Regions from separate parts of the Homo sapiens genome. Here all the other regions are linked to region 3. The links are contacts of gene promoters, found by promoter capture Hi-C in human tissues and cell types (Jung and others, 2019). All regions are on one chromosome and are shown on one strand. The core of a region is centred on a gene start or on the middle of the fragment in contact, and the rest is flanking DNA. Distances in the headings are between cores, read along the strand shown.

Region 1 (2,827 bases), core at 104-2,603, 54 kb before region 3:
AGAGACGGTGTGGCTCTTAGATAAGTCAGCCACTCCTGCAGCAACCCCATTCATTTTCGGCCAACACCAAGCACAGAAGCATACCCCGCCAGGCAGAGGGAGAAAGCTGTGTGGGTTTGCCCCTGGGTGGCTGGCTCCAATCTGGATTCGTTCTGCTCCTTAGAAAGGTGCATGCTGGTCAAGGCTTTGACTTTTGAGTTAGGCATACATGGGTCCACATTTTGACCCTGCCATTGTTAGATGCTTAACTTCTCTGAGCCCAAGTTTCCCTTTTTATAAAACGGGCATAAAAATGGTACCTATTGCACAGTGCTGTGAGGATTTCCACGAGACGATGCTCACCAGGGCTTAGCATAACCGCCGTCACAGGGCAAACTCACTCGATGCATGTTGTCATGCTGCACTGTTGGGGCAAAGATGTGCTGTCTTGCCACTCATCTGCTGTGTGGTCTTGGGCAAGCGCTGCAGTCTCTGGTTCTATCTGCAGGAATTTCCATGTCTGGAATGAAGGCTGGTTTGTGAGGTCTGACCTGGGCCCCTCGTACGGTGGATGGCAGGTGTTGGATGCTACCCCGCAGGAAAGAAGCCAAGGTAACTTCTCTGGGTGTGGTTCTGAGTCGTGAGCCTCACAGTTATTTACAGCCATGGACAGCAGCATAGGGAAGTAACTCCAAAGCCCTCTCCCTCTGGAATGCATGATGGGATTAAAACAAAAATAGTTTAAAAATAGATCTCCCCTGCTAATTTTGCTTGGCTCGGGCTGCTGTTTAAATGAGTGCCTGCCCTGCACCCACAATGGCCACTGTTGCTGCACAGAGCCTTGGCACAGGCCAGGTGGGCAGAGAGAGCAGCCTTCCTCTGCCAGTAATGATTTTCCTTCACCAACTGCAGCAGCCTCTCCTTCCCAGCACAGAAAATTCATGGTTCCCTGTTGCCCTTGGGGTTTAGTCCACATTCTCCACTGGTCACCACCCACAGCAGCTCTCTCTGCCACACCAAGCTCCCCCTTAGGCAGGCTGCCTCTGCCATCCCTATCCCGGGCCTCTGCTTCCTCCTCTGGCCTCCCTCTGTCTCCTGCCCCATCAGGGGTTGGGTCCCAGGCTCTCCTGGAGCCTTTCCTCTTCCCTTCTCTGACCTCTAGAGCATGACTTGTCTGTTACCCTCATTTTCAGTTGTTCTTTGAAACATTAAAAAGTGATTTATGGGGCTGGGAGTGGTGGCTCACACCTGTAATCTCAGCACTTTGGGAGGCCAAGGAGGGTGGATCTGTTGAGATCAGGAGTTCAAGACCAGCCTGACCAACATGGTGAAACCCCGTCTCTAGTAAAAATACAAAATTAGTCGGGCATGATAGTACATGCCTTAATCCCAGCTACTTGGGAGGCTGAGGTGGGAGAATCGCTGGAACTCAGGAAACGGAGGTAAAGCCGTGAGCCGAGATCATGCCGTGGCACTCCGGCCTGGGAGACAGAGCAAGACTCCGTCTAAAAAAAAAAAATGTGATATATGAAGTAATATGTGCATGTAGTTGAAAAAAATTCAAACTATTCTAAAAGGACTAACAATAAAACTTAAGTCTTACCACACCCCCAACCCCTAGCTCCTCTACCAGAATCAGTGCACGTTACTAGATTTGGGGGCTTGGAGGTAACTGAGACATTTGCTAGGCCACAATTTTCCAAAAGTTTCATTGCAACCCATTAGTGGTTATAAAATCTAGTTAGTGGGCTGTGTCCATCATTTTAGGAAAAGAAAATGAAATGGAATGGAACGGAAAGCAGGGAAAAGAACATAAACTATCAAGGCTCATTAGATATAGTTAGACTAGGCTGGGCGCAGTGGCTCACGCCTGTAATCCCAGCACTTTGGGAGGCCGAGGTGGGTGGATCACGAGGTCAGGAGATCGAGACCATCCTGGCTAACATGGTGAAACCCCGTCTCTACTAAAATTACAAAAAAAAAAAATTAGCCGGGCGTGGTGGCGGGCGCCTGTAGTCCCAGCTACTGAGAGAGGCTGAGGCAGGAGAATGGCGTGAACCCGGGAGGCGGAGCTTGCAATGAGTCGAGATTGCACCACTGCACTCCAGACTGGGCGACAGAGCACGACTGCATCTCAAAAAAACAAACAAACAAACAAAAAAGATATAGTTAGACTAAAGACCATTGTCCTGTGAAACTTTTGTTTCTGTATCATATGTGTGCCAAGATGTCAAATGTATTTCTTTCTAGGGGTTGTGGTGAAAAAAGCTGAAAGTCACTGACATCTATCTATCTATCTATCTAAGCTTCCTATGCTGAGTGCTAAGAAGAGGGAAGAAATGGTCAGGCTTGGGAGCTCAGAGGAACAAGAGGTCCCTGCAGGCTGCCTGTTCAGGGAAGTCTTCCTGGACTAGGAAGGTGATGAGCTTCTAGGCCAGAATGACTTGCAGAGGTAGAAAAGAGGCAGCCACCCTGAGCACGAGAAAGCAAGACTTTCCTCTTTAGGAAACAGACCAAGGACAGTGGGTCAGCATGGATTAGGCGCCCGGAATGCGGAATTGTGTAGTCTTATGTAGAGGTTGAGTTCGACCAGCAAGAGAATCATAGCCCGGGAGGGTCTCTGCAGAATGCCAAATGAGTGGGACACACAGTCAGGGGTGAAGGAATTTGGGCGGGGCAGAGGCAGGGGGTTGCAGTGGTCCTGGAAGGCCCTGGGGAATCGGGCACTGGGTAGGTTGTGGCCTTGGCATATATCCAGCCTCTGCATCTTGGCCTCCAGGGGTGTTCCAGTGCGGCCCCGCTTCGGTCATTGGTGTTCGAGAGGGTGATGTGCAGCTGAACTTCGACA
Region 2 (3,088 bases), core at 469-2,968, 36 kb before region 3:
CAGAAATGAGTAGTGACAGAGGCATCAACATCACTAAGAAATTCAGTGGTGGCATCCTCTACATTTAAAGCAAAAATAATAGCAACATTGTAGAAGTAAAATGTATGAAAATAATAACACAATGGCCAGGAAGGAAAAAAAAACACTGATGTAAATTTCTTATATAATACATGAAGTAATAAAATATTAATTGAAGATAGACTGTGACAAGTTAAAGATCTGTATTATAAACCTAAAGAAACCAGTAAAAGAAAAGAAGGCCGGCGTGGTGGCTCACACCTGCAATCTCAGTACTTTGGGAGGCCAAGATGGGTAGATCACTTGAGGCCAAGAGTTCAAGACCAGCCTGGCCAATATGGTGAAACCCCATTTCTACTTTAAAAAAAAAAAAATTATCCAGGCGTGGTGGCACATGCCTGTAGTCCCAGCTACTCAGGAGACTGAGGCAGGGGAGTTACTTGAACTTGAGAGGCAGAAGTTGCAGTGAGCCGAGATGGTGCCACTGCACTTCAGCCTGGTTGACAGAGTGAAACCCTGTTTCAAAAAAGAAAGAGAAGAAAAAGAAAAGAAAACAAGCTGGCCATGGTGGCTCACGCCTGTAATCCCAGAACTTCAGGAGTCTGAAGCAGGCAGGTCACCTGAGGTCAGGAGTTTGAGACCAGCCTGGCCAACATGTCAAAACCCCGTCTCTACTAAAAATACAGAAATTAGCTGGGTGTGGTGGTGCATACCTGTAATCCCAACTACTTGGGAGGCTGAGGCAGGAAAATCTCTTGACCCTGGGAGGTGGAGGCTGCAGTGAGCTGAGATCGCACCACTGCACTCCATCCTGGACAACAGAGTGAGACTCCATCTAAAAAAAAAAGAAAACAACAAGAAAACCCAGTTATCAGTAACAAACCAACAAAGTAAACGCAATGTAATAGTAAAGAATACTCAATTAATAGAAAAAGAAGGCAGAAAAGGAGAAAAGGGAACAAAGAATAGTTGAGACAGATTTTAAAAATAAGTAGCAATATGGTAGATTAAACCCAACCATACTAATAATCACATTAAATGTAAATGGCCCAAACACCCAAATAAAAGGCAGCTATTGTCAGATTGGGTAAAAAAGCAAGACCCAACTATATACTGCTACAAAAAATCAAATTTGAATATAGAATAGAAATTGGTTAAATGTAAAAGAATACAAATTATATACCATACAAATAGTAACCATAACAAACCTGGAGTGGCTATACAAATATTAAACAAAATAGCCAAAGATTGTTACTAAAGAAAAAGAATATTTTTGAATGATAAAAGAATCAATCCATCAAGAATAAAAATTATAAGTAGTCTCAATGTTCTTTGAATGCAAAGAAATTAAATTAGATGACAATAACATAAATATATCTGGAAATCTCCAAACATTTGGAAACTAAAGAAAAGACTTCTGAATAACCTATGGGTCAAAGGAGAAATTTTTAAAGAGAATTATAAAGTATTTTAAACTAAAAACACAGCATATAAAAATGCATAGGATGCAGCAGAGGAATATTTATAGCACTAAAATGTCTATATTAGAAACGAAAAAAATCAATGAACTCACCTTCCACCTTAGGCAGCCAAAAAGTGAAGAAATTAAACCAGGCCGGGCGCGGCGGCTCACGCCTGTAATCCCAGCACTTTGAAAGGCCAAGGCCCATGGATTACCTGAGGTCGGGAGATCGAGACCAGCCTGAGCAACATGGAGAAACCCCGTCTCTATTAAAACTAAAAAATTAGCTGGGCGTGGTGGCAGGCACCTGTAATACCAGCTACTCAGGAGGCTGAAGCAGGAGAATCTCTTGAACCTGGGAGGCAGAGGTTGTGGTGAGCAAAGATTGCGCCATTGCACTCCAGCCTGGGCAACAAGAGCAAAACTCCGTCTCATAAAAAAAGAAAGAAATGAAGAAATTAAACCTAAAATCTAAAATAAATGGAAAAGGAAATACCAAACAGCATAAATCAATAAAACAGAAAATAGAAAAACAAAATAGTAATTCAATGTAACTAAAAGTGGGTTCTTTCGGAACATGAATAACATTGATAAGTCTCTAGCCAGACTGATCAGCAAAAAATAAGAAAGACACAAATTACTAATATCAGGAATAAGAGACCCTATAGCTATTTGAAGAATAATTTAGAAATATTATGGACAAACTTATGCATAAAAAGCTTGACAACTTAGCTGGGCATGGTGGCTCATGCCTGTAGTCTTGGGAGGCCAAGGCTGGAGGATCACTTGAGCTCAGGAGTTCAAGACCAGCCTGGGCAACATGGCAAGACCTTGTCTGTATCAAAAAAAATAGCCAGGCACGGTGGCACACACCTGTAGTCCCAGCTATTCAGAAGGCTGAGGTGAGAGGATGGTTTGAGCCCAGGAGGCAGAAGTTGCAGTGAGCCAAGATTGGGCCATTGCACTCTAACCTGGGTAATAGAGCCAGACCCTGTCTCAAAAAAAAAAAAAAAAAAAAAAAAAAGGTTGACAACTTAGATAAAATGAACAAATTCCTTGAAAGACACAAACTATCAAAACCCATTGAGGAAGAAATAGATATCCAAAGTATCCCTATATCTATTTTAAAATTTGAGTTTGGAGTGAAGTTCAGTAGAAAACTCTCCAGCCGAGCCTAACACAAATTGCTGGCCATAGAACTGGTTGTCGTCTTGTCACCACATTTTCATGTGGTTTGTTATACAGCATAGGATATTATTTATTGTTGTATTATATTAATTATCACCACGAAAATATTTATTCACTCTCCAGTGCTCAGTTCAAATGTTTCCTCTCCTGCAAAACCTTCCCCATCTTCCTCCCACATCACTGCATCCAAACACACGAGGTCTCTTTTTTTCTCTCTATGCTTTCCCTTCATTGTCTTTTTGGACCACTTGGCTTAAAGTCGTCTGGCCTACGTCTCTCCTCCCCTGTCCTAGACTTTGTGCTTGTCATGGGCAAAAACCATGTCTTCTTTAGCCCTACATTCTCCACACTTAGCATAATACCTGGTGTAGATAAGCACCCATAAGAATTCATAAAAGAGCCAAAAAGTAAATGAAATTG
Region 3 (2,804 bases), core at 51-2,550:
GGCAGAAAAGCAGCTTCAGCAGGGCCCAGGGTCTACAGGGCAGCAGCCTGCAGGGTGTTGAGGAAGGAGCTGCCCTGGGCTGCTGCCAGATGTCAGTAATTATAAGGCTATGTGGGTCTGCAGACAGCTCATTAAAGACGCTTGATCTGCGTGAAACCAGGAAGCAGAACTCAGCCTCTTTGCCACTTTCTGTAAGAAATCCAACCACATCAAACACTTTGGGGTTTTTATGCAGTTTCCTGAATGTTGGGGTGATCCCAGGGAGCGGCCTCATCCTACTGTGCTCAGCACACGGTTGTCTCCTTACCCTTCCTTGTCTCTTTCCCTCGATTCTACCCCCTCCCACTTCCCCTTCCTCACTGGCCCAGGCCACATCCAGCCTTCGATAGCCCCAAGTCATCCATCAAAGCATTTCTCCGGCAAAAAGAAACCTACCCCACCGGCTTCCATGAAAATAAAATCCCCTCTATTTCATTAACAAAAGACCTCAGATGCCTTGAATTCCAGCACCTTCAAGCCCAGAATCTTAGACTTTGAGCTGGAATGGCCCTGAAGAATAATTGAGTCCAATCCCTTTAGTTTGTAGGTAGAAACACCAGGGTTCCAGGAGGGGAGAGGTCTTGTCCAAGGTCACGGGACACCCATGGCCACCAGGCCTCTAAGCTCCTGGCTGGAGGCCACTCACAAAGTCAGGGCAGATGGGCCTAGCTTCTGAGTCAGAACCAGCTCTCCCCTTTTTCTTATCTACCTCCTCTCAAGAGTCTAGTGTCCACCAAGGAAGTCTAGTGGCCCTGAAGGAGGATCATGGACCTCTGCCTCTTTAGATGCCTGCAGAACAGAGTGGAGCTGTGGGCCCAGGAGTCTTCTGCTCTCACCCAGGAGGGGAGAGGGAGCCACAGACTGACCCGGCACTGCAGCGTGCAACCATGTACTTCGGGGTCCTGGCGCTGAGCCTGTTTTTTCTCATTTGAGGGTTGTTGTGAGGGCTAAGAATGGCCAACCATAAATCCGAGTTCCCTCAGTCTTCTCTCTTTCCCCGTTCTTTTTCTTGCCAGGCTTGTGACCTTTCTGAGCCTCAGTTTCTCCACAGTCCCATTCGCAACTCCGTGTTTCCAAGGTCTCTTGGCAGGAGCCACTCCCACAGTGAACCCCTCTAGGTGCAATTACAGGATGATTTTGTGTCTCGTGGGTGTCGCTGCTAGGGTGGAGGGCCACGCCTCCTCTTTTGAATTCTGACTTTCCTGCCTAGGAGTGTCCCAAGGTTTTCCTTGTTAAAATTGGTCTGGCTGGCTGCTGTGACGCGCCACACTGTCCTGACGGTGCACACACTGCTGTGTGGAGGAACAGAGGAGTCCAGCTGGCCTTCACATGGCAGGTAAGTGGGCAGAGCCTGGGGCCTTGGGACACCAGGGCTCATGAGGGGGGCTTCAAGAAACACGGGTCTGTGGGATGACGTTTGATCATCGATTGTTAGGATTTTACAGCTGGATAGTCCACCATGAACACATGAACTCTTCGTGTGGATTCATGAGGCCCAGGATGAAAAAGCCAGCTTTAAGCCACCCAGCAAGGCCATGGCCCAGGCTGGCTCAGGCGCTGTCTCCTGGGCTGGGGCCAGGTCTCACCCCTGTGCCTCGGAGGACTGAAGGAGGCAGGCACAGGAAGGCAGGGGCAGAAAAAAGAAAATCTCCTTGCACCCCATGCACATTCCATGGATCCAGAGACGTTTCTGGGCATAGTTGGGAATTGTGGCCTGCGTGGGAAGGAGTGAGAGGCCCCCACCGGCTGCATCCTCGCCTGATTCCCACCCCAAGCACTTGAGGGCAAGAGCAGCTCTGGCTCAAGTGAAAACAGCTATATGACCTTGAGCAAGAAAATTTGCCCTTGGTACCTCTGTTTTCTGATCTGTGTAATGGGGATTATAATGCAAATTATCTCACAGCCTTGCTGTGAGGAGTTGGTGAGACCACGTGTGCTGTTCTCCCACCACACATCTCAAGTGGGGACTTGTAAACAGTAGACTCAGAAAATGTGGGTCGGGCACAGTGGCTCACGCCTCTAATCCCAGCATTTTGGGAGGCTGAAGGGGGTGGAATTCTTGAGCTCAGGAGTTTGAGACCAGCCTGGGCAATGTGGCAAAACCCCGTCTCTACAAAAAAATACAACAATTAGCTAGGCATGGTGGGGAACACCCAAAGTCCCAGCTACTTGGGAGGCTGAGGTGAGAGGATCGCTTGAGCTTAGGAGGTAGAGGCTACAGTGAGCCAAGATGGTGCCACTGCACTGCAGGCTGGGCAACAGAGTGAGACCCTGTCTCAAAAAAAAAAGAAAGTAAGATAATGTGTCCCCCACGACCTCAATATAGTGAGCAGCAAACTCCCTCTGCAAGAACTTGTCTTAGATGCTGGGGCCCGGTAATGAGCAAGTCAGCAGAACCAGGGGTCCTACACTCACAGGTATTCAAGGGGTGTTTCTGAGTCTGTGTCTGCCAGTTTTAATTGTTCAGCATTATGTGACAGTTTTATGAATCAAATATTTTTTTAACTTTCAAAGGCAGATATTTGAATTTCCTCATCATAGTCTAGCTTCCTCTTCATATTTCCTCCTGGCAGTTAACAGCATTGCTGGACGTGTTGGGCCCTTCAGGCTCCTAGGATAGGTCTGTTCTGAAGACCAGGCCTTGCCAACACCAGCTCACAGCCCAGACTGCCTGTTTCCAGAGCTGGGGTTGCCTCCCTGATGGCCCTGGTGCAGAGGGGATTGCCTTTGTTCCTCCAAGATCTGCTTCTCAAAGTTCACCTAGA
Region 4 (2,972 bases), core at 193-2,692, 53 kb after region 3:
TGAAGTGTTGCACTCAGTAATCCTTAAACTTTTGGACAACCATAGATGATGTAAGAACCGAGGGAGCCTCTCCAACCTTCATCTCTCATCCCCATGGCTGGGAGGTTGACAGACCCGAGCATCAGAGAAACCCTGGCCCACTCAGCTCTGCCATCTTCCACCCTGCCACCTCGCTGTCACCCTGGCTGACCCTTGGACTCTCCTTGCTTTTCAAATGCCCTGGCCACATCAAGAGCCAAGGATCCTCCCCACAGTCCTGACAGAGAATCCAAAAGTATCAGAGCTGGAACCTAACCATCCCTCAACACTCCCATTACAGAGAAGAAGGAAACTTACAGAGGCCACAGGGTGAGCTAGAGGCAGAGTGGAGGCCCATGTGTGTGCCATTTATACCTCCTAAGTCCCGATCCTAAAAAGCATTAGATTTTAAGCAAAGGGAGATTTTCCCTCAGTGAAGACACAGGCCCAGGATCTGAGGGGCGATTGCTGCCTAGGATAATCTTAAGAAGATAAAGGAAGGGCCCAAACTGGATTGCATTCCTCTAAAATCTGCAGCCCCAAATCTGAAGAGGGCCAGTGACTAACAGCACAAACAACAGCAAACACCTCACAGGGCTCAACTTACACAATTCTGACCGAACAATTAAAGTTGAGAAAATGTTTCATTCAATGGGTGCCAAAACTGTTGCCCCCAGATCAGCTGCAAACAAGAGCAGAGCTTTCCGTGGAAATTGTAAACAAGGGATCAAGATCCCGAAGCATTTCTTCAAAGAATTGTAACAGGATGGAACATGGCTTTACCAATACAGTCCTAAAGACAAAGCACAATCGAAGCAATGGCTACCAAGAGGGGGAAATGGTTCAGTCAAAGCAACAGTGGACCAGCCGGCCAGGCGCGGTGGCTCACACCTGTAATCCCAGCACTTTGGGAGGTCGAGGTGGGCGGATCACTTGAGGTCAGGAGATCAAGACCTGCCTGGCCAGGTGAACCCCATCTCTACTAAAAATACAAACATTAGCCAGGTGTTGTGGTGTGTGCCTGTAATCCCAGCTACTCGGAAGACTAAGGCAGGAGAATCACTTGAACCCAGGAGGTGAAGGTTGCAGTGAACCGAGATTGCACCACTGCACTCCAGCCTGGGCAACGGAGCAAGACTCTGTCTCAAAAAAAAAAAAAAAGTGGACCGGTCAGGTGCAAAGCTTGTAGAAACTGTTTTTTGGGATGCTCAAGACATTTTGCTTGTCGGTTTTCTGGAGAACCAAAGAGTAACAACACCTGCTTATTACGAGTGTTTTGATAAAGTTAGCTGAAGCTTTCAGAAAAAAACCCAGAAAAGCTTCACCAGAGAGTCCTTCTCCACGACAATAATGTTCCTGCTCATTCCTCTCATCAAACAAAGGCAATTTTGTGAGAGGGTTGACTGGAATTCATTAAGCATCCACCATACTGTCCTGATTTGGCTCCATCTGACTTCTTTTTATTTCCTAATCTCTTTTTTTTTTTTTTTTTTTGAGACAGAGTCTTGCTCTGCCGCCCAGGCTGGAGTGCAGTGGCGCGATCTCAGCTCACCTCAACCTCTGCCTCCCGGGTTCAAGCGATTCTCCCGCCTCAGCCTCCTGAGTAGCTGGGATTACAAGCGTGTGCCACCACGCCCGGCTAATTTTTGCATTTTTAGTAGAGATGGGATTTCACCATGTTGGTCAGGTGCGTCTCAAACTCCTGACCTCAAGCGATCCTCCTGCCTCAGCCTTCCAAAGTGTTGGGATTACAGGCATGAGCCACTGGGCCCAGCCTGTTTCCTAATCTTAAAAACAAAATCTTTAAAGGGTGCCCGTTTTTCTTCAGTTAATTGTGTTAAAAAAAAAAAAAAGACTGTGTTGACATGGTTAAATCCCCTGGACCCTCAGTTACTTAGGAATAGACTAAATGGCAGGTATTATTATTTACAAAAATATCTTGAACTTGACAGAGCTCATGTTGAGAAATAAAGTTTCTACTTTTTATGTTTATGTTTTAATGTTACTTTTCCATGAACCTTTTGAAGTCCCCTTGTAGGTGTTTAGGGAGGGGAATGTAGCTGAAGGTGGTGAGGGCCACCTGCCACATAGCTCTGTTTCCAGTACAACGCTCTTGCCCTTGGTGCCTTCGAGTAGCATTTTAATGGGACAAAAGTGGCCTCCCTGGTTATTCCAGCCCCAGTGGAAAGCAGAAGCCGCCCCAACAGCCAATGAGAAAGCCCTGCTTGTGAGTGGGAGAGGTAGAGAAATTGACAGAAGACAGCTTAGAAGTCCAAGGGAGAGTGTGAGTGGGAATGTGGTTTTGGAAATTACAAAGAAAAATGTGCAGGTAGGGAATTCCTTTCAGCTGGTAGGGCAAGACCCTGACCATGTGCTTAACACAGGAAGGGCAGAACAGGTAGTTCAAGACTGAGAAAAGCCTTAGAATTGGCTGGCCATGGGACACTCAGAAGGACACCAGCAACAGGGCTTTACTGAGTCTCAGGACTCCTGCTTCCATTGAGTCCCCCTGTCTCTTAAACACTATCTGAAACTTCATGAAGGCCCTTGACACCAAGTTAGGTCAGGGATCTGAGCTTTCACATACCAGAGGGGCCTCCAAACCTTTAGAACAGAGGTTGGCAAACTTTTCTGCCAATGACCAGATAGTAAATATTTCAGGCTTTGCAGGCCATAGAGTCTCTGTTACAACTACTCAACTCTGCTGCTATAGCATGAAAACTGCCATACTTAGTGCATAAACAAATGAGCCTGGATGTGTTGCAATAAAGTTTTACTTACAAAAACAGGTGGCAGGCCAAGTTTGGCCCACAGGTTGTAGTTGACTGACCTTGCCGTAGGACAACACATTGCTTCCAATCTTGCTCCAGGACTGAGCTCTGACACCAGGCTACACCTTGCCCTAGCATCGAGCCTAAACCTGAGCCAAGGCCAAGCCCTTAACAAGCCTCGGA

What was found. Contacts are between HindIII fragments. The study calls those that stand out against the background at their distance.
Region 1: a fragment that was not itself captured here is called in contact with the fragment with the promoter of TGM6 in region 3 in 2 of the 25 tissues and cell types used here (ovary and thymus).
Region 2: a contact is called between a fragment that was not itself captured here and the fragment with the promoter of TGM6 in region 3, in 4 of the 25 tissues and cell types used here (H1 embryonic stem cells, pancreas, spleen and 1 more).
Region 4: a contact is called between a fragment that was not itself captured here and the fragment with the promoter of TGM6 in region 3, in 1 of the 25 tissues and cell types used here (adrenal gland).

Annotation. Positions count from the first base shown.
Region 1 is chr20:2,325,362-2,328,188 of GRCh38, forward strand. It overlaps TGM3 (transglutaminase 3), which reads left to right. Exons shown (of 13, transcript NM_003245.4): 8 at 488-591; 9 at 2,759-2,827. Among named protein-coding and RNA genes, the nearest start is that of TGM3, 31 kb to the left of the region's middle. The HindIII fragment of the contact is 4,472 bases long and covers 1-2,827 here.
Region 2 is chr20:2,342,868-2,345,955 of GRCh38, forward strand. No RefSeq gene overlaps it. Among named protein-coding and RNA genes, the nearest start is that of TGM6, 36 kb to the right of the region's middle. The HindIII fragment of the contact is 8,143 bases long and covers 1-3,088 here.
Region 3 is chr20:2,379,601-2,382,404 of GRCh38, forward strand. It overlaps TGM6 (transglutaminase 6), which reads left to right and starts at 1,301. Exons shown (of 13, transcript NM_198994.3): 1 at 1,301-1,375. The coding sequence starts at 1,369. The HindIII fragment of the contact is 30,296 bases long and covers 1-2,804 here.
Region 4 is chr20:2,432,821-2,435,792 of GRCh38, forward strand. No RefSeq gene overlaps it. Among named protein-coding and RNA genes, the nearest start is that of SNORD119, 29 kb to the right of the region's middle. The HindIII fragment of the contact is 3,952 bases long and covers 1-2,972 here.